2 separate regions of the Homo sapiens genome follow, and region 2 is linked to region 1. The links are contacts of gene promoters, found by promoter capture Hi-C in human tissues and cell types (Jung and others, 2019). All regions are on one chromosome and are shown on one strand. Each heading gives the region's core, a stretch centred on a gene start or on the middle of the fragment in contact. The rest is flanking DNA. Distances are from core to core; before and after follow the strand shown.

Region 1 (5,318 bases), core at 1,023-3,522:
TTTCATTAGGCAACTTCCAAACACAAATTCATAGAGAGAAGTTATCTTCCTCTCTACCACACTAGCAGGTGATGGTCTTTCCTGTTCTATCTTTTTGGCTTTAGCTCCAGCCCCTCTTTATTTATTTTTCTGGTATTTTACGCATGCCACACGAATTCATCTAAACGAACGGTGAACAAGTGCCATATCGTATCAATGTCTTACACGGCTGAAGGGCAAACCACCCTTTTTTCCAAAGTCCTTTTTCCATTTACCCACCAATTCAGCATGCTGCAGTACATTTCTTTTCGCATTCCCACCTTGGTCTTATCCCACACATGGAGACGGAAATGCTTTCTCGTTTTCTGTTCCAAGAATTACTAGTAACGAGAGCACACCCTACCGCATCAGCAAGCCCCAGTGTGATCGCTTTCTTTCGGCCTCCTTTGTCTCTTTTCCCCCCCACCCCTCAGGGATTGCGTGAAACAAACAACTGTTCAGTGAAACTAACCTGAAATTACACGTCTACTTTCTTTCCCCGGCTGGCGCTGAGATGGGCAGGTGCTGGAGCAGCCCCGCTGGAAGCGATGCAGCATCCAGGAAGACGGAGGAAGGGGCAGAGAGGGACCTCTGCTTTCCAGGCTGCCTTTTATACTGCCTCTGGTCACCTGACGTGGAACGTACCCTAACCTAATCAGTTACATGTAGGTTAATTACAATTAACTTAATCCAATTACATGACTCGGAAAGGTCTATCTGCACAGCCCACTCTAAGATCATGTCCACTGCTGACAGACATTCTAAAACCTACGTGTACAGCTGCAAGCTTTGAAGAATAGATGTTCCCCGTCAGATATGTAACACTGGTGCCTGTACCCCTGTCTTCTTTTCCATCTTTTTTGTTTTTGTGTTTTGTTTTGTTTTAAAAAATGTGGTAAAATAGACACCTTTTAATTGGACCATATTTACTCTATCTCGACGTAGGCCTCCGTGTCATCATGGAGATTCTCCTTGACATGCAGTCACGGCCATGATCCATCTTCAGAGCTTCTCTTTCTTCCCCACGGTAGGTCTGTCAGCAGAGAACCCTGACCACACACTCATGTGTTTTCTCCTCCAGAATGCGCTTGGAAACCACCGTGAATTGGAGCGCACTGGGAAACACAGATGAAGAAAGTCAACACCGCTTTGTCCTTCAGTGCCTGGCTCCCTTTTCAGCTGGTCTTGAGACTCCAGGCATTGGAGTCCAGGGAGGGGCACGCCGCCTTTACCTTGTGCTTCCCACGATCTTGTCTCCTTAATCCCCACTGCAGCTCTCTGCCATAGGGTCTTATACTGCTTTACATGTGGGAAACTGAAGCTCAGAGGGTTTCACAGCAGGGCAGGGAGCCCAGATGTGAATCTGTACATACCAAGCTTTCTAATTTTTCAGTAGTTTCCAAGCATCTTTTTTTTTTTCTTGTTTCTTCATTGATGTCTTTTTTTTTTTTTTTTTTTTTTTTTGAGACACAGTCTCTGTCGCCCAGGCTGGGGTGCAGTGGTGTGATCTCAGCTCACTGCAACCTCCGCGTCTCACAGTCAAGCAATTCTCATGCCTCAGCCTCCCGAGTAGCTGGGACTACAGGTGCCCACTACACCCAGCTTATTTTGGTATTTTTAGTAGAAACAGGGTTTCACCATGTTGGCCAGGCTGGTCTTGAACTCCTGACCTCAGGTGATCCACCTGCCTTGGCCTCCCAATATGCTGGAATTATTGATATGAGCCATTGTGCCCGGTCATGTCATTGTTGCCTTAACCAAGCCTCTTTTAATTTTTCAAACGGAAGAGCCCCTGTCCCTCAGTTACTGCTGCTGAGCCCTTTCAAGATGACTCAGTGAGGAGGGGGAAAAGCAGAAGCGGTGTGGGAAGAGGCGGGGTCTGGGCCAGCTGCTGGTCCTGCTCTCCTCCCTCCTTTGGCCTCTAGGCTCCCAGGAGTGGTTTGGAACCTGCGCCGTGTGCTCTGGGGGCTGTGGCAGGGCAGGGGCGGCTTGGAACCTGCGCCATGTGATCTGGGGGCTGTGTCAGGGCAGCGGGAGTCCTCGTGTCCCCTGCGCACAACACAGACAGAAGGCTGGGTCCACCCAGTGGGCGGTCGGGTGCCAGGCCAGTGCTTACCCCGCCATGTTTTCAAGCCCGAGGCCAGCTGGCTGCAGGTGCAGGGCTATGCGTCAGGGGTCAGGGTGCACACATCCCTGCAGGTCTCGGGGCTCCTGGGTTGCTTCTGGAAGGGCCCGGATGGGGCCTGACTGGAGCTGCCGAGGGGTGGAGCTTCTGGGAAAAGGATCCCTCCTAGGGGGAGTGTCTTGGGCCTGGGGCCACGTGGCACGGAGAGAGACGGGTCCATGGCAGTGTCTGCTTTTCTCTGTGAAGGCAAAGGGCCTCTGAGGGAGTATTACAGCCGCCTCATCCACCAGAAGCATTTCCAGCACATCCAGGTCTGCACCCCCTGGCTGGAGGGCCGAGGACTACCCCCGCTTCTAGGTGAGAGGCCAGCAGGAGGCTCAGGGAGGACGCGGGGCCTTAAGCAGGGGGAACAGGGGTGGGCAGGATGTACTTTTTTCAGAAAAGGTGGCTCTGGAGGCCACTTGGGGACAGGACCTGGGCTCTAGCTGAACTCCCGGGAGGAGGCTACTTCCTGGTGTGCCAGCCCCTCCCTGCCAGGTGGCCCCAGAGGCCCTTTACCAAGGGGTTTGAGGAGGCCACGTCCTTTCAGTCTGCCACGCCCTCCATTCAGTCCTCTTCCTTCCTGCAGGAGGGCTGGGCCTGGGGTTGGGGCCACTGTTGCCCAGGTGTGGGAGGGCAGTGGCTTTGGGAGGTACAGGGACGATGTGTCAAACAGCGTCGCCTCTCCCAGTGCGATGGTTCTCCTTTGCCTCCGTCTCTTTCCGCGTTGATTTCTCCAAGTGGGGAGTCGTGGCTTGGTCCTGATGCGTCTCTAGAGCCGCATCTTCCAGCTTCGAGTGAGCAGAGCAGTTGGAGTCTGAGGGCCTTTTCCTGGCAGGATTCTCCAGCTAGTCTTTGTTTTAGACAGTCTTGCTCCGTTGCCTAGGCTGGAGTGCACGATCTCAGTTCATGCAACCTCCGCCTCCTGGGTTCAAGCGATTCACCCACCTCAGCCTCCCAAGTAGATTACAGGATTACAGGAGCCCGCCACAACACCTGGCTTATTTTTGTATTTTTAGCAGAGACAGGGTTTCACCATGTTGGCCAGGCTGGTCTTGAACTCCTGACCTCAAGTGATCCTCTCGCCTTGGCCTCCCTAAGTGCTGAGATTCCAGGCCTGACCCATCATGCCTAGCCCCAGCTAGTCTTTAGAAATGTTAAGCTATTTGGCTTTATTTTCACACTGACAGCTGGTTTGTGGTGGGTGTGATGTGGTTTATTATTATTATTATTATTATTATTATTATTTTGAGACGGAGTTTCGCTCTTGTTATTATTATTATTATTATTATTATTATTATTATTATTATTATTTTGAGACGGAGTTTCGCTCTTGTAGCCCAGGCTGGAGTGCAATGGCGCGATCTTGGCTCACTGCAACCTCTGCCTTCCCGGGTTCAAGCGATTCTCCTGCCTCAGCCTCCTGAGTAGCTGGGATTACAGGCACCTGCCACGAATTAGCTTCGCTAATTTTGTATTTTTTTTTAGTAGAGATGGGGTTTCACCATGTTGGCCGGGCTGGTCTTGAACTCCTGACCTCAGGTGATCCACCCGCCTTGGCCTCCCAAAATGCTGGGATTACAGGCGGGAGGTGAACCTGGGAGGTGAAGGTTGCAGGGAGCTGAGATTGTGCCACTGCACTCCAGCCTGGGTGACAGAGTGACACTCTGTCTCAAAACAAAACAAAACAACAACAACAAAAAACAAATTGTGGCTATGTAGAAAAAGTGTCAACTTACATTTTCAGATGTCCCACCCAGGCCGTGTGGCTGCTTGGCCACCTTAAGCCACTTGTGCTTGGGGTTGTCGGGGACCTTATCCAATTTTCACTCCCCTCGGGGGAAGTTGTCTCACTGTGCTGGGAGGATTTGTGTTCCCAGGGCAGAGACCAGCGCTCTGACCCACCCCTCTTGCCTAGCAGGGTTAGTGGACCTGGGTGTCTCTCTGGACACATCCTCCAGTGGCCTGGACCTGCCCATGAAGGTGGTGGACATGTTCAGGTGCTGTTTGCCTGCGTGTGCCGTGAACTTCAAGTGGTAGGAGCAGAACCCCAATCTTTCTGGGGATAGCTTCACAGATCCACCACTGAGGGGGAAGCAGTGCAGAGTGAGCTGCCCACAGTGAGGCCCTGCCCCTCGGTCAGTCCAGCACACACTGGAGGCCACGAGGAGGAGCCCTGCGGTTGCTGTGGCTGGGCTGAGCCTCACTGAAGTAGTTGCTTCCATTTAGAGCTCATGTTATATTTAGGTTGGTACAAAAGTAATCACGGTTTTTGCCATTAAAAATGGCAATTACTTTTGCACCAACCCAATATGAAAAAAAAAAGTACCTTAAATACAAGAACTCCACTCGGGGCTTTTGCTCCTAGAGTAGAATTGGCGGGAATTGCCTGCAGGCTTACATGGTTTTCTTTGTTTTTCTCTCCCACCATGTCCCTTTTGGCCAAGCTCACGTGCTGGGTTTGAACGAGTTAAATGAGTGTCATGCTGTGGCCTCACTGCACCCAGCATAGACGGGTGTTTGGAAGGGCGGCGTTAGAGGAGATTCTAGAAGCAGTAGCCCCAGCACAAGTTGAGCCCTTGGCCCCTGCTCAGGAGCCAGCTCCTGGATGGGATTCAGGGATGCGAGCCCCTCATGTGAGCTGAGCTCAGGGAATGTCGGGATCAAATCTGGTGTCCTAGAAAAGTCATCTTTTATGTGCTGAACCAGTCCCCAGGGGGTTGCCTTTACTTGTTCCATGGCCATGGAATTAAGAAAAACATGCAAAAATAATTCTTCAGTCCTTGAAGAGCATCCAGCACAGAAGGTACAAACCTTCCTTAAGGCTCTCTCCTCAAATCGATTTGGTCATTTTGATGTGCACCCCCCCCAGGCCTTTATACCCTTCAGATGCCAAATCTAAGAACCAGCTCCCAGAAACCACACCCCCTGTTCCAACCCCCAGCCTGGCTTGAGCGTGGGGTGGGTGGGAGCCCAGCTGGGCACCCCAGGGGTCTGGTGTCTTCCCCAGGCAGCTCTCAGGCTCCCTTGGTTCTCTCTGCAGTTTACATGAGCTGGTGAAACATAAAGAAAATGGCCTGGTCTTTGAGGACTCAGAGGAACTGGCAGCTCAGCTGCAGGTAGCCATGTCTGCCAC
Region 2 (5,488 bases), core at 2,049-4,548, 100 kb before region 1:
TTCTTAGCATAAACTATCTTAGAGCCCATCATGAGAGACCTCATTAGCATGAGATATACGGGCCCACCATGAATAACAAAGACAATCCTATTATTTGGAAAATTCCAAGGATTTAAAGGCTACCTCCAGGAAGTGGGAACAAAATCCAGGCAAATTCTTTATTACCTAGGTTAACTGCAACATGATGCAATATTCAGAGAGTGAACGAACAAGTGAAGGCACACTGTCAGCCTCTCAGAGTTGTGGAACTTCCAGTCTTCCCTCATAATAGGTACCATACCACACATGACATGCAATCAATACTAGTAAAGCTTATCTTCCTTAAAACTTTAAATAAATGTAAATAGATGTTTTAGTGTTTTTTTCTCTGTGCCTTAGCAGATCCTCTTTTATACTGCCTAAGGTACTTGTGCCCCATTTTGGAGATCACTGCCCAAGAGATCTCTTGGATAAATAATTTAAAGGGATAAGGGGATAGATTCTATTATTGTTTCCAAATGTCTGTGTTCTCCTTTGTGAAAGGATTAAACTTTGATACCCTTGACATGTCTTTCTGTAGACAAAGTATATTTCCCTGTCTCACTTGCAGGTTTGTTCAGGTAACTTGCATTGGCCAACAGAATCAGAGCAAATACAACGTACACCTTATCTGAATAAAGGATGCTACTACATGGTTCAGCTTACAAGGAGCTATTCTGTGATCTCAGCTTCCAGAATGAGAAAACACTTGGAGAGGGGCCAAGCAGAGTTGCAGTCAACTCCAAGGTGGCCCTAAGCACAAGTGTAATGTAAGTGAGAAATACATGTTTGTTGTTGTAAGCCACTTGGATTTTGGGGTTGTTGGTGATACGGTGTAATCCAGTTATAATGTGACTTATTCCAGGGAGAGAGCTATAGTTTTAGGAATATGGTTTGCTTTCTAATTATGAGCTTAGATTGTAAAGACTCTGAGAATCAATGATTGTTATTTCAGGGAATATGTGTGCATGTATACCTGTCTACGTGCATGTGCTGGTTAGGCCCAATCATTAATTTGTGGAGAACTTAAAATTCCCTTATCCTTCCCTTATGCTTTGTCATTCCCCTTTCCCTTTTCTTACTAAATAATTTGATTCTAAATAAAGCAGTAGCAAGATAGGTGTCTATGGTGAGGTGGCTGGGAGAGCAGCAGTGGCCTGGCACAGGGGGAGAGCTTTAGCAGGGTGAGAAGGGTGACTATGCAGGGTATTGGCTTGACAGTGGTTCTGGAGCCCAAGCAGAGTGAGAAGAACATCCCTTAGGGGTGGGAAAGTGTCCTGGCATGGGGAACCAGAGCGAGGAGATGTCCACTCCTGGCAATGGCCCAGTGCAGGGTGTCAGAGGATAAGATTGAGGAGGGTGTCCATAGTAGGGGTAGCCTGATGTGAGAGGTCAGAGTCTGAGAGGTAAAGAAGGCATCTATGTGGTGGGATAGTCAGGTGCAGTGAGTTGGAGTGCAAGCAGGGTGAGGAGGGCATCCATGTATGAGGTTACCTTCTATAGGGAGTCAGAGTCGCAAATGGCTGAGCAGAGTACTCTAGGGCCAGCCTGGTATGTATGTCAGCATGTGGGAGAGGTGAGGAGGGCACCCATGCCTAGTGTTGGCCCAGTTGGGGTTGGGACTCAGCACTTAAGCAGGATGAGGAGAGAGAGCATCCTTGCAGAGGGTAGACCTGGTGTGGTTTCAGAGACCAAGCATGATAAGGAGGGTGTCCATGTGGTGGGGTAGCCCAGTGAGGGAACTCAGATCCTAAGTAGGGTAAGATGGACATTATTGCTGGGGGATGGAGGACCTGCATGGAGTGTCAGAGCCCAAGCAGGATGAAGAAAGCTTCTATGCAGAGGGAGGACTTGGTGTGGGTTTCAGAAACTTAGCAGGATAAGGAGGTGGTCCATGTGGTAGGATAGCCCGGTGAGGAAATCAGACCCCTCCAGGGTGAGGAGGGCTTCCACCCATAGGGTGACCTTGTGTGGAGCATTAGAACCTAAGGGGGTCTAAGTGGTGACTAGGGGACCAGCATCAGGAATCAGAGTGCAAGCAGAGTGAGGAGGGCTTTCCTGCAGAGGAATGGCCTAGCACAGGGAGTCAGAGCCTTGGCAGGGTGAGGGGGATGTTTGTTGGGGGATGTTCATGGGGGTGGGGAGTGGGCTGGCCCTTTGCCGGCACTCTCAGAGTGAGGAGGGAGGGCATCCGCGCAGGGGATGGTGGCTTGGACTGGGGAGTCAGAGCCCAACTAGGAAGAGAGGGACATCTTAGCAGGTGGGAGATTGACGACATCCAGGAGATTGATCAAATAAGGAATAAGTGAAAGACAATGAAAGCAGGTTTCTTAGTGTCACAGAAAGGAGTTAGGAATGTGGGAAGGGAGAAAACTAGAATGAAACTTGTGGTGTTAGATTGGAATTAGAGGAATTAGTGTGAACTCATGGTGTTCAATATATTTAGATATAGAAATAATATAGAAATATAGACGTGTGTGTTTGTGTGTGTGTGCATGCATGTATGCATGTGTGTTATGCAGGAGAAGGAATCAGCTGGGGGAGATTAAAAGGAGGATCATTTGCGGAGAGTTGAGGGCAGAGAATCCAGGTGTGAGCTGGGAGCATGTCTATGGAGAGATTCCACATGAAGGATTTAATATTTGGAGTGTTTTCTTCTAGGCCTTTGGAAAAAGTCATATTTAGTACTTTGTTTAAGTTTATCCCCTTCTATACTGTGATTCTATATAATTCTCCTAACTGTTAAAAAATAGTCATATATATTGGAGGTGATGTGGCGATTAAAAGGTTAGGGAAGCATGGAATAAAGGCTGGCCTTCCCTCTCCTCCAACATCCAGTAAAGGGAGCTGCTTTCTGGAGATTCTAGCAAGATGAATGCAGACTTTTGATAGAGTTAGTTACCAACAAGGAAACACAGAGAGCATGGAGGAACAGCTTCAGAAGACATGGGGTTTAAACTTTGCCATCCCCACCATGCTACAGGAAACTAATTCGTGAAGGTGGGGAGGCTGATATGTGAGTTTTGTGTCAATGATACTCTTAGAATGTGGTACTAACAAGTTGCCTGATCAGTCAAAATTGATGAGATGAATGCAACATAAGTCTATGTTCAGGATGTTTGGTCAAAAGTAATTACATTTGTGTGTGGAAGCACAGAAATTGTATTTTTTACTGGTGAAAAACGCAGTTCTCCAGAAAGACTCTAAGTGCTTGGTTCTTCTTTTATTTTTCTTCCTCTTTCCGCAACCCTTTGAGTTCCCACTTTTATTGCATTTGCTTGCATTTGTTTCAAGGCTGTGATTCTCACTATACTGGTCCTGAGGAAAGGGCTTCTGTGAACTGCGGTTTTTAGTTTTTATTGTGGTTCTTAGTTCTCATGAGACCCCTCTTGAGGATATGTGCCTATCTGGTGCCTCTGCTCTCCACTAGTTGAGTGAAAGGAAGGAGGTAATTTACCACCATGTTTGGTTCCTGTTTATAAGATGTTTTAAGAAAGATCTGAAACAGATTTTCTGAAGAAAGCAGAAGCTCTCTTCCCATTATGACTTCGGAAATCACTTATGCTGAAGTGAGGTTCAAAAATGAATTCAAGTCCTCAGGCATCAACACAGCCTCTTCTGCAGGTAAAGATCATTTTCTAGGGGTCAGAGTGAATGACGAGGTGAAGGATGAGGAGAGGGTTTATGAATAAGGCATAGGTGTTTTCAGTTGCTGGTTGTCTGATTGAGTATGTCTGGGAAACACAAGAGTCCCAGAAGATTGAGTGGCCTGCAGATACGCATTACGGGGTGTACATTTGTATTGTGGAGAAGAAAAGATTTTGTGCCACTCTCTTCAGCCTCCACTCTGCTTACTGAAACAGAGGTGAGAGAAATCCACTCCAGTTCTGAGCTAAGGCGAGTGCTCTGATGCCCCTGTGTTTTCTGAGGCTGAGTGGGGCTGGGGTTAAGAGATTGAGTACAGCTTCTGAAACCATCAATCCAGATGCAGGGGGTCCTGATGAATTTGTGAGATTTGTTTTTTGATCAGTTAGAGGGAAAGAGTTTGGGTGGACAGTGGTGAGGGTATATTTGTTGGTAATGGATGGAAATGTAACAAAAGGCCTTTGCAAATGAAAGACTAGAAAGTCTACAAAGAAAGTCTCTTAAATCTCCAGGAAACTTTTTCTGAAATCAGAGAACCTATTGCGTGTTGCATCTCTGAGACAGACTCTGTTACGTTTGGGAGTAGATGCAAGGTGATTTGGGTGTCATGTGTGATATCTCAAGTATAGAGCAAAAGAGAGAAAAGAATGTATATAGAGTACAAGAAACTATGGGGGAAGGGGTCAGGACTATAGTTACGCTTTCTAAAATACCTCTGTGAAGGTGTGGAGAGCACTTAGGGAAATTTTTTCTCCTTAAAAACTTTATATAATTTCTTTATTACACAAGTATTAATGTTCATTGTAGAAAAAATTAACCAGAGGTACACAGATATTTGAATTATAATTACTCTTATCATCTAGAGAAAATCATAATTTGCAATTTAGTGAATATCCTTCCACATACAAATACATATAATGTGCATATGTATTTTACTAAAAATGTAATCATATTATATAATACTGAATTTTTTTCCCCCATCATTTGACAAAATATCATAACTCGAAGAAAGTGATTCCTAACCATGAGATGGTAACTAAAAAGACTGACTTTATTCTAAACATGTGATGAGGAATGATTATAAAGATTTATTTGCTATAGCATTATTTAAAGTTGGAAACCATTATTTAAATATATGATGAAATACTATGCAACCATAATAAGGAGTGTTAAAGAAGAAAATATAATGGTATGAAAAATGTTCATGATATAGTGTAAAGGAAAATAATAGGTCAGAAATCAGTATTTATGGTATGTCAATCGTGGGAAAATTTGCATATGTGTATATATACATTCAAAAAATTGCTAGAAAGATATATACCAAAATATTATGGTATATTATAAGTTATATGGCATAACAGTTATCCTCAATTGTAGGAATTCGTACTTTTATGTATTTTTTAAAGTTTCTACAGTGAATATTATTATATCCTTTCTATTCCTATTCTCATGTGATTTCAAATGTCATACCGTTAGTAACTGTGTGTCATCCAAGAAAAGAGAGAGAAAGAGGAGGAGGAAGAAGAGGAAGTAAAGACCAAACTTATTACTGATAAAACTAATTTGGCTTCTTCTTCAGCTTCCAAGGAGAGGACTGCCCCTCACAAAAGTAATACCGGATTCCCCAAGCTGCTTTGTGCCTCACTGTTGATATTTTTCCTGCTATTGGCAATCTCATTCTTTATTGCTTTTGTCAGTAAGTATGCCAACTGAACCAATAAGCAATATCTGCTGTCCATGAACAGAGGGTATCCTTTAAAAACTGACTTTTGAAAATGAGCTTATCCAGAAATCTGAAATGAAATTTTCTCTGGGGAGACATAAT

What was found. Contacts are between HindIII fragments. The study calls those that stand out against the background at their distance.
Region 2: a contact is called between the fragment with the promoter of CLEC4A here and the fragment with the promoter of FAM90A1 in region 1, in 1 of the 25 tissues and cell types used here (mesendoderm cells).

Annotation. Positions count from the first base shown.
Region 1 is chr12:8,225,346-8,230,663 of GRCh38, forward strand. It overlaps FAM90A1 (family with sequence similarity 90 member A1), which reads right to left and starts at 2,273. Exons shown (of 7, transcript NM_018088.3): 1 at 2,135-2,273; 2 at 927-1,133; 3 at 491-647. It also overlaps the pseudogene ALG1L10P. RefSeq lists an enhancer at 1,835-1,884. The HindIII fragment of the contact is 5,625 bases long and covers 1,101-5,318 here.
Region 2 is chr12:8,120,319-8,125,806 of GRCh38, forward strand. CLEC4A (C-type lectin domain family 4 member A) reads left to right here and starts at 3,299. Exons shown (of 6, transcript NM_016184.4): 1 at 3,299-3,642; 2 at 5,243-5,359. The coding sequence starts at 3,561. RefSeq lists an enhancer at 3,169-3,218. The HindIII fragment of the contact is 11,068 bases long and covers 1,081-5,488 here.